2 separate regions of the Homo sapiens genome follow, and region 1 is linked to region 2. The links are contacts of gene promoters, found by promoter capture Hi-C in human tissues and cell types (Jung and others, 2019). All regions are on one chromosome and are shown on one strand. The core of a region is centred on a gene start or on the middle of the fragment in contact, and the rest is flanking DNA. Distances in the headings are between cores, read along the strand shown. Region 1 overlaps PRKCG (protein kinase C gamma). Region 2 holds the start of NLRP7 (NLR family pyrin domain containing 7).

Region 1 (5,639 bases), core at 1,041-3,540, 1.1 Mb after region 2:
CCAGGACCCCGGCCCCCCAGCGCCAGCACACGTTTCTCCACCAGCGTGCAGTCCACATCGTCGTCCTGGACGATCACGTCCTTTTTCAAGATCTTGATGGCGTAGAGCTCATCAGAGCCCCTGCGCTCGGCCAGCATCACCTATGCGCACAGTTCCAAAAGGGCCAGTCCATGTTGGGAACCCAGTGGTACAGGACCTGCCCCCTCCCTAAGGGACGCAGGGAAACGGGATCCCAGGCCCTTCCTCCATCTCTTAAGGGACTGACAGCCCTGACTTGCCGCCCGTCCCCTCAAGGAGAGTGTCCACATCTGTAAACCTCTCCTCTCCAGGAACCTGAACGGCCCAACCTAACCATATTTGAAGATGCAGGAGCCCAGTCTCTTCCCACCCCCACTTCCTCCCTAAGAACCAGAAATCTGACCTTCCCACAGACATCCTCCCTTTCCCCCAGAACCCCAGGAATCCAACCTTCCCAAAACTGCCTTTTCCTAGAACCATGAGGAAGCTGAAGTCGGAGATGTGCAGGCGTCCTGGACTCGCCCCGAAGAAGCAGCGCTTGGGGTCGGTGGGACTAGGGGAAGGGGAGGGGATGGGAGAGGAAGAGGGGCCCATCCGCACCCGCTGTGGAAAGGAGAAAGAAAGAGCCAGAGGCAGTTAGACCTTACACAGCGATAAGGAAATGCTCCCAAGAGACACAGCACCCAAGAAAGGAAAGGATGAGAATCGCTAGACAGAGGAAAATGGCCACCCTCCTACCCTGTCCTTGGCTTAATTTTCTCTGACTCCCCATAGCCTGGAGGGTTTATTTATTATTCAACAAACACTTAGCTCTTTTTTTCTTCTTTTTTTTTTTTAGATAGCTTATCATATGCTGTTTCCAGAAAACCCTGCTATCGTTTCCATTTTACAGAAGAGGAGACTAGCACAGAGACGTTAAGTAACTTGCCCCAAGTCACACAGCAGGTAAAGGACAGAGCCAGAAATGAAACCCAAGCAGTCCAGCTCTAGAATCTGGTTGCTCTTAGCCTCTAAGCCGGAATTCCCTAGAGGGTTTGGTAAAACAGATTGCTGGGTCCCACTGCCAGATTTTCTAACTCTATAAATCTGGGGTGGGACCTGAGAATCGTTATGTGTAAAAAGCTTCTGGGTGACATGGGTGCTGCCAGTCCAGGGAGCACACCTGGCTTTCAGCTAGGGTCCCTTCTCTACCTTTTCCTGCCTCGGCCCCCCAGGGAGGGGGCCCAAGACTAAGCTGCTGTCACAGCTTCCACACTTGTCCCTCTACATGGACGGCTGCCCTTTCTAATGCATTCTCTACTCAGCAGGCACAGGAGCCAATTTAAAAATAAATAAACCAGGTCATGTCTCCCCTATGCTTGTAAACCCTTTAACTGCTCCCTCTGTGTTAAGATTTTATTCCACATGACTTGCAGAGCCAGGCTGAGACTGACACTGCAGGTTGTTCTTCTCTCTCCCAGGCTCCATGGTCCAGCCACCCTGGCCTGACACTCATTGTCCTCCCTCCCACCTCAGGGCCTCTGGATGTGCCGTTAGGTCTTCCTGTAAAGCTCTCCCCTCCCCTTCCCTCCTAGTTGTCTCCCAAACACCCTTTAGACCTTGACTCAAGCATCACTTCATAGAGGCCTCGCCTGACTTTTTAAACTGGGTCAGATGCCTCTCTTACCACCCCTTGGTCACCATGGACAGCACCTTCCTGGCACTTTTATTCTTAGTAATTTACATCTATCTGTGTGACTATCTGCTTTCTGCCTGTGAGCTCCCTAAGGCAGGGGTCTGCTTTGTTCGCTAAGACACAGTAACACTGCCTACCTCATTGAGGCTACATAAATATTTGTTGAGGGCTGGGTGCGGTGGCTCATGCCTGTAATCCCAGCACTTTGGGAGGCCGAGGTGGGCAGATCACCTGAGGTCAGGAGTTCAAGACCAGCCTGGCCAACATGGCGAAGCCCCATCTCTACTAGCAATATAAAAATTAGTAGGACATGGTGGCACATGCCTGTAGTCCCAGCTACTTGGGAGGCCAAGGCAGGAGAATCGCTTGAACCCGGGAGGCAGAGGTTGCAGTGAGCTGAGATCGCTCCACTGCATTCCAGCCTGGGCGACAGAGCGAGACTGTGTCTCAAATAGATAAATACATAATAATAATAATAATAATAATAATAATAATAATAATAATAATAATCAGGGCTGTTTCTGTTTGCTGTGTTGTTAGCCCCGTACCTAGCTCAAGGCTTGGCACAGAGTTGGTGTTCATTGGTAATATTAAGTGGTGCCTGCTGAACTGTGGGAGAGTGCTGTGAGCCACAACAGGCACACACACCACCCTACACTCCCTGCCTCTAGGCCTTTGCCCACCATCTGCCCTGCTGGGTTTCTTGGGTTTGTACGGGAGGATCATCCCTGCTGATCTCAAAAGACTCTACCTCTTTGGCTCAGAATGTCCTCCCGCTGGTACCCTTGTCTCCTGCAGAGCCCATTCTCTCTTTTTTTTTTTTTTCTGAGATAGAGTCTCGCTCTGTCACCCAGGCTGTAGTGCAGTGGCACGATCTCGGCTCATTGCAAGCTCCACCTCCCAGGTTCATGCCATTCTCCTGCCTCAGCCTCCTGAGTACCTGGGACTACAGGCACCCACCACCACGCCCAGCTAATTTTTTTGTATTTTTAGTAGAGACGGGGATTCACCGTGTTAGCCAGGATGGTCTCGATCTCCTGACCTCGTGATCCACCCGCCTTGGCCTCCCAAAGTGCTGGGATGACAGGCGTGAGCCACTGCGCCCGGCCGCAGAGCCCATTCTCAAACTTAACTTTGCAAAAGGATCACCTGAGGAATTAATTTAGTAGGCAGACATTTGAGGCATCAGAGAGATCGTCACTGAGTAGGTCTGCAGAAAGGCTGGGGAATGTGCTTTTAAAAGCAAGCACTCTAGGAATTCTGATGCAGGTGAACCCCCACACACAACATTAAAAACTCTGGTGAAAGTTTCTGTAAGAGTCCAGTAAAGACTATAACATGTTGTTGCTGTTGTTGAATCTTGAAGATTCTTGTCTTCTTTTTTTTTTTTTTTTTTTTTGAGACAGAGTCTCCCTCTGTCATCCAGGCTGGAGTGCAGTGGAGCGATCTGGGCTCACTGCAGCCTCTACTTCCCGGAATCCAGCAATTCTCCTGCCTCAGCCTTCCGAGTAGCTGGGATTACAGGCGCCTCCACCATGCCCAGCTGATTTTTGTATTTTTTAGTAGAGATGGGGTTTTGCCACGCTGGCCAGGCTGGTCTCAAACTCCTGACCTCAGGTGATCCGCCCGCCTTACTAGGATCACAGACATGAGGCATCGTGCCCAGTCTATCATATGCTTATATATTTTGTTTAATGTCTTCCTCCCGGTGTAAATCCCATAAGGAAAGGAACTTTTTTGTTTGTTTGTTTGTTCTTTCCCTGCTTTCTCTATATCCCCAGTGAGTAGAGCCACGCCTGGCACACAAAGATGCTCTGTAAAGTATTTTTTGAAAGGGTAAATGAGGGAGAGAGCATTACTTCCTCCTGCCTGAAAATCTGGTCTCTCCTTTGGGAAATCCCGCCCTTCTACCAGGTCTCACCTCTCTAGGAAGCTTTCTCTGACTCAGGCTGTGCCAGGGACGCCCCAGTGCCTGAGGCTGTCTCCATTACAGCAGCATTGCTCCTCGTTGTGAATGTCTGGGTTTGTAACTTTGTCCTCCACTAGAAGAAGAGCTCCACCAGGGAATGGCCTGATTCTATTCCCAGAACAGGGCCTGGCTTATGACACCCTAGAAAATGGGTATTCGTCTGGGCGTGGTCGCTCACGCCTCTAATCTCAGCGCTTTGGGAGGCCAAGGCGGGTGGATCACTTGAGGTCAGGAGTTCGAGACCAGCCTGGCCAACATGTCGAAACCCCATCTCTACTAAAAATACAAAAATTAGCCAGGTGTGGTGGTGCGCTCCTGTAATCCCAACTACTCAGGAGGCTGAGGCAGGAGAATCACTTGAATCTGGGAGGCAGAGGTTGCAGTGAGCTGAGACTGCATCACTGCACTCCAACCTGGGTGACAAAAGGAGATTCTGTCTCAAAAAAAAAAAGAAAGAAAGAAAGAAAGAAAAAGAAGGATATTCAGTGAGTGAATGAATGAATGGAGAGATTAAGATGATCATGCTTGATAGATTTTTTAAAACTCAAGAATCGGCTGGGTGTGGTGGCTCACGCCTGTAATCCCAGCACTTTGGGAGGCTGAGGCGGGTGGATCACCAGGTCAGGAGATCGAGACCATCCTGGCTAACACGGTGAAACCCCATCTCTACTAAAAATACAAAAAATTAGCCGGGCATGGTGGTGGGCGCCTGTAGTCCCAGCTACTCAGGAGGCTGATGCAGGAGAATGGCGTGAACCCAGGAGGCGGAGCTTGCAGTGAGCCGAGATCGCACCACTGCACTCCAGCCTGGGCGTCACAGCGAGACTCCGTCTCAAAAAAAAAATAAAAAACTCAAGAATCGGTCGGGCGCAGTGGCTCATGCCTGTAATCCCAGCACTTTGGGAGGCCAAGGCAGGCGGATCACCTGAGTTTGGGAGTTTGAGATCAGCCTGGCCAACATGGCGAAATCCCATCTCTACTAAAAATAAAAAAAAAATTAGCTGGGTGTGGTGGCGGTCACCTGTAATCCCAGCTACTCAGGAGGCTGAGGCAAGAGAATTGCTTGAACCCGGGAGCTGGAGGTTGCAGTGAGGCGAGATTGTGCCATTGCACTCCAGCCTGGGCGACAGAAATAAAAATAAAAATAAAAATAAAAATAAATTAAAAAATTTTAAAAAACCTCAAGAATCAATTCAGGCGTCACCTCCTCAGGGAAGTCCTCCCTGACCACCCTCCCCCAGGCTGGATTAGTGCCTCCGTTAGGCCTCTTCAGTGCCCTGGGCTACCTCTAATTTAGCACATCTTCCTGTATTTTAAGTATCTGTGACTGTGTCCCTACCTTGGAGAGTTGCTTGAGGGTCAGATTCATCTCTGGATCCTGGATTATTCAGCAAGCACAAGACAGGCCTAGCACAAATGTGTGCTCAACTCATGTGTGGGGAATTGAAGACAGAAGTCAGAGGAGGAATAAGAAATCAGAGAAGTAGGCAAAAACTGCCTCCATTCAACGCCCTGGTTCTACTCACCTCATACAATTCCAGGGGGTAGTTACAAGCCTGGGAGAAAAGAAAGAGAGAGTCAGGGTCCCAAGAGATGCAGGGGATCGCCCTAGAACAGGGGCTGGTGGCCCCTAGTACCCTCAAGCCATGGCGATAGATAGGAACTATAATTCCCATCAGACCCTGGGGCTCGAGTCCCCTAGAAGAGCAGAGGAGGGAGTCCTAGGGTCTTCTGGGAACTGTAGTCCCAGGACCAGCGGGCACTCAGGGGTGGAAGGAAAGGCCAGCTCTGAACCGTGGGAGGCTGGGCTGGGCTCCCTTGAGGAAGCCAGGGTCTGGGTACCTCAAACTTCTGGAGGAGGCTGCAGTTGTCAGCATCGGCCACCGGCACATTGTAATACTCGCCCTCCTCCTGGTTCAGTAACTTGTACCTGACATACAGACGGAGACCAGAGGCGGGCAGCGGGGATGGGGCACC
Region 2 (5,058 bases), core at 830-3,329:
CAAAAGTCACCTCATTTACATAAACTCAGGTGTGGTTGCAGGGCCTGGGTATGTATAACAAGAGATACCTCTTTCATGTTTATCTCTCCATAGCTGCTCTAGGACTAAAGGCCAAATGTTTTAACAAAATATACTCTCTCTCTCTTTTTGTCAGCTAGAATATAATTTATTTTTATTGTTTTTATTTTCTTTTTCTTCAGAGAGGGAGTCTCGCCATATTGCCCAGGCTGGTCTTGAACTCCTGGACTCAGGCAGTCCTCCCGCCTCAGCCTCCCAAAGTGCTGGGATTACATTCATGAACCACTGCGCCTGGCCATCTTTTTTTTTTTTTTTTAAAGATGGAGTCTCTGTCGCCCAGGCTGGAGCGCAGTGGTGCAATCTCGGCTCACGGCAACCTCCAACTCCCAGGTTCAATCAATTCTTACGCCTCAGCCTCCTGAGTAGCTGGGATTACAGGTGCACACCACCATGCCTGGCTAATTCTTTATTTTTAGTAGCCAGGGGTTTTTTGCCATGTTGCCCAGGTTGGTCTCGAACTGCTGACCTCAGATGATCCACCTGCCTCAGCCTTCCAAAGTGCAGGGATTACAGGTGTGAGCCACCATGCCAGGCCTCCATAGTGCCTATTTCTATAGATGGCATGCTGCAACTGATATATACATCTTCATTTGTGGGACCATTTGCTTCCATTAAATTAACAGTTTAAACTACCAAAATTCTGTGCTGAATGCTTTCCACAACATACACTGTTTTATTTAAAAACAATTTTAGGCCAGGTGCGGTGGCTCATGCCTGTAATCACCTGACATCAGGAGTTTGAGACCAGCCTGACCAATATGGTGAAACCCTGTCTCTACTAAAAATACAAAAAATTAGTTGGGCATGGTGGCATGTGCCTGCAGTCCCAGCTACTTGGGAAGCTGAGGCATCAGAATTGCTTGAACCTGGAAGGCAGAGGTTGCAAGAATGGAGATTGCACCACTGCACTCCAGCCTGGGCCACAGAGCAAGACTCCATCCAAAAAAAAAAATTAAATATCAGTTATCTATTTATTTTTTTGAGACTGGGTCTCACTCTGTGGCCTAGGCTGGAGTGAGATGGCCAGTCACAGCTCACTGCAGCCTCAAACTCCTGAGCTCAGGTGATCCTCCCACCTCAGCCTCCTGAATAGCTGGGATTACAGGTGCAGCCCATCATGTATGGCTAATTTTTTTGTTTTTGTTTTTGAGACAGTCTTGCTCTTGTCACCCAGGCTGGAGTGCAATGGCGTGATCGTGCCTCACTCACCCTCCACCTCCCTAGTTCAAGTGATTGTCCTGTCTCAGCCTCCCGAGTAGCTGGGATTACAGGCACCTGCCACCACACCTGGCTAATTTTTTGTATGTTTAGTAGAGACAGAGTTTCACCACGTTGGCCAGTCTGGTCTCCAACTCCTGACCTCAGGTGATCCACCCGCCTCGGCTTCCCAAATTGCTGGGACTACAGGCATGAGCTACCACGCCCAGCCTATGCATGGCTAATTATTAAATATTTTTGAAGAGATGGCATCTTGCTATGTTGCCTAGGCTGGTATCAAACTCCTGGCCCCTAGGGATCCACTGGCCTAGGCCTCTCAGCCTGCTGGGATTTATAGGCAGGAGGCACCACAGTTGGCCACAAAGTAGACTTATTGTATTTGTAACTTAGGAAGTCACGGGAGTTTTTGTCCTCTTTTTTTTTAATTTTTATTTATTTTTGTTTAATTTTTTTTCTCTACAAGAGTTTTTAAAGCTGGGAGCCAGGTACCCTGCAAAACCCAAAATGTGTATTTCCTGTTCTGTCGCCTATCACACCTGGCCCGGGTGGTCTAGGAAGGGAATTGCACATTAATCTCACCTGGGGAGATTCAGCAAGCCGTAATTCTCCAAAGCCCACTGAAGCCCAATTACAGCCAAATCCCTGAGGATGGGGCCCAGGTGATGTCAAGGTGAGCCTGAGGTCAGTGGTTGGGAGCCACCCAATGTTAATCTCAGTGGGGCGGTTCCACCCTGGGCGGGAAAGCTGTCTCTCCACCTAGCGTACCAAGGGCCAGAGACCTCCCCTTTTTATCCGTTTCCTTTGCAGGAAACACAGGCTGGAAGCAAGACCTGACCTGAGGGAGGTGAGTGCTGGTTCTTGCATCGATTTCTTTGTCTTCTCGTTTAAGGGAGAAGAAGCTATTGGTTGAGTTTCCACCATAGCCCTTCCCAAGCCTTAATGGTTGGTGCGAGGATGCTGGAAGGATCTTTGATTTTTTTTTTTTTGAGACGGAGTCTCCCTCTGTCGCCCAGGCTGGAGTGCAGTGGCGTGATCTTGGTTCGCTGCAAACTCCGCCTCCTGGGTTCACCCGCCATTCTCCTGCCTCAGCCTCCTGAGTAGCTGGGACTACAGGCACGTGCCACCATGCCCAGCTAATTTTTGTATTTTTAGTAGAGACGGGGTCTCACCATGTTGGCCAGGCTGGTCTTGAACTCCTGACTTTAGGTAATCTGTCTGCCTCGGCCTCCCAAAGTGCTGGGATTCCAGGTGTGAGCCACCACGCCTGGCCTAATGTCTTAAGGACTTCTATTCAAATATAGTTTAGAGGAGTTCAGGAGATTGAGACTAGCCTGGGCAACATGGTAAAACTCTGTCATTACAAAAAAATATAAGGCCAGGCACAGTGGTTCATGCCTGTTATCCCAACACTTTGGGAGGCCGAGGCGGGTGGATCACTTGAGGCCAGAAGTTTGAGACCAGCCTGCCCAAAATGGTGAAACCCTGTCTCTACTAAAAACACAAAAATTAGCCAGGTGTGGTGGTGCATGCCTGTAATCCCAGTTACTTGGAAGGTTGAGGCAGGAGAATAGCTTAAACCTAGGAGGGGGAGGTTGCAATGAGCTGAGATCGCGCCACTGCACTCCAGCCTGGGAGACAGAGTGCGACTCCGTCTCAAAAAACAAAGAAGGCCAGACCTTGTGCTGTGTCCAAGCTACTTGTGGGGTGAGGTGGGAGGATCACCTGAGCCAGGAGGTGGGGGCTGCAATGAGGTGTGATTGAGCCACTGCACTCCAGCCTGGATGAGATGAAGACCCTGTTTAAAAAAAAAAAAAAGTAGGCTGGGCGCGGTGGCTCACGCCTGTAATCCCAGCACTTTCAGATCACCTGAGGCCGGGAGTTTGAGACCAGCCTGACCAACATGGAGAAACCCCATCTCTACTAAAAATACAAAATTAGCTGGGCGTGGTGGCACATGCCTGTAATCCCAGCTACTCGGGAGGCTGAGGCAGGAGAATCACTTGAACCCGGGAGGCGGAGGTTGCGGTGAGCTGAGATTGCGCCACTGCACTCCAGCCTGGGCAACCAGAGTGAAATGCTGCATCAAAAAAAAAAAAAAATGTAAATGGCCAGATGCGGTGGCTCACGCCTGTGATCCCAGCACTTTGGGAGGCCGAGGCGGGTGGATCAGCTGAGGTCAGGAGTTCGAGGCCAGCCTGGCCAACATAGAGAAACCCTGTCTCGGCCGGGCGCGGTGGCTCACGCCTGTAATCCCAGCACTATGGGAGGCCGAGGCGGGCGGATCACGAGGTCAGAAGATCGAGACCATCCTGGCTAACACGGTGAAACCCCATCTCTACTAAAAATACAAAAAAAATTAGCTGGGCATAGTGGCGGGCGCCTGTAGTCCCAGCTACTTGGGAGGCTGAGGCAGGAGAATGGCGTGAACCTGGGAGGCGGAGCTTGCAGTGAGCCCAGATCGCGCCACTGCACTCCAGCCTGGGTGACAGAGCAAGACTCCATCTCAGAAAAAAACAAGAAACCCTGTCTCTACTAAAAATACAAAAACTAGCCCGGCGTGATGCGGTGCGCCTGTAATCCCAGCTTCTTGAGAGGCTGAGGCACTAGAATCACTTGAACCTGGGAGGTGGAGGTTGCAGTGAGTCGAGATTGTGCCACTGCACTCCAGCCTGGGCAACAGAGGGAGACTCCATCTCAAAAAAAAGAAAAAAAGAAAAAAATGTACTTGGGAAAAAAAATACTTGGCCAGGCCTGGTGGCTCATACCTGTAATCCCAGCACTTTGGGAGGCTGAGGTGGGCAGATCACCTGAGGTCAGGAGTTCAAGACCAGCCTGGCCAACATGGTGAAACCCCGTTTGTACTAAAAATACAAAAAAAATTAGGTGTGGTGGGGCATACCTGTAATCCCAGCTACTTGGGAGGCCGAGGCAGGAGAATCGCTTGAACCCGGGAAGAGGAGGTTGTGGTAAGCCTCGCACCATTGCACTCCAGCCTGGGCGACAGAGCAAGACTTTCTGAAAAAGAAAAAAAAAACCCTGAATTTTTCTTTTCTTTTCTTTTTTTTTTTTTTTTTGAGAGGGAGTCTCACTCGCCCAGGCTGGAGTGCAGTGGCGCGATCTTGGCTCACTGCAAGCTCCGCCTCCCAGGTTCAAGCCATTCTCCTGCCTCAGCCTCCCAAGTAGCTGGGACTACAGGCGCCCGCCACCATGCCCGGCTAATTTTTTTTTTGTATTTTTAGTAGAGACGGGGTTTCACCGTGTTAGCCAGGATGGTCTTGAGCTCCTCACCTTGTGATCTGCCCGCCTCGGCCTCCCATAGTGCTGGGATTACAGGCGTGAGCCACCGTGCCTGGCCAAAAAACCCTGAATTTTTCTAAGTACATCAAGCGTTGTCACTGCAAAAACGAAAGGCAACTATATGAAGCAGTGGATATGTTAATTAGCTGGATTGTGGTAATCATTTCACTGTATATATAACATCGCTCCATGCTGTACACTTTGACAAGTAAACGTTGTATATATTACTTTAAAAATACTTAAAAAATAGAGACAAGGTCTCCTTGTGTCGCCCAGGCTGGTCTGGAACTCCTGGGCTCTCATGCTCTTCCTGCTCCATCCTAAAATAGGATATATGTAATTATACCTCACTGAAGGGGTGGCCTGCCCCTCCACACCTGTGGGTGTTTCTTGTCAGGTGGGACGAGAGACTGAGAAAAGAAAGAGACACAGAGACAAAGTACACAGAAAGAAAAGTGGGCTCAG

Evidence for each region. Contacts are between HindIII fragments. The study calls those that stand out against the background at their distance.
Region 1: a contact is called between a fragment that was not itself captured here and the fragment with the promoter of NLRP7 in region 2, in 1 of the 25 tissues and cell types used here (spleen).

Annotation. Positions count from the first base shown.
Region 1 is chr19:53,892,941-53,898,579 of GRCh38, reverse strand. PRKCG (protein kinase C gamma) reads right to left here. Exons shown (of 18, transcript NM_002739.5): 8 at 5,505-5,592; 9 at 5,189-5,218; 10 at 469-621; 11 at 1-140. Among named protein-coding and RNA genes, the nearest start is that of CACNG7, 14 kb to the left of the region's middle. RefSeq lists an enhancer at 5,454-5,639. The HindIII fragment of the contact is 6,042 bases long and covers 1-5,311 here.
Region 2 is chr19:54,944,551-54,949,608 of GRCh38, reverse strand. It overlaps NLRP7 (NLR family pyrin domain containing 7), which reads left to right and starts at 2,079. Exons shown (of 11, transcript NM_001127255.2): 1 at 2,079-2,140. The HindIII fragment of the contact is 18,328 bases long and covers 1-3,081 here.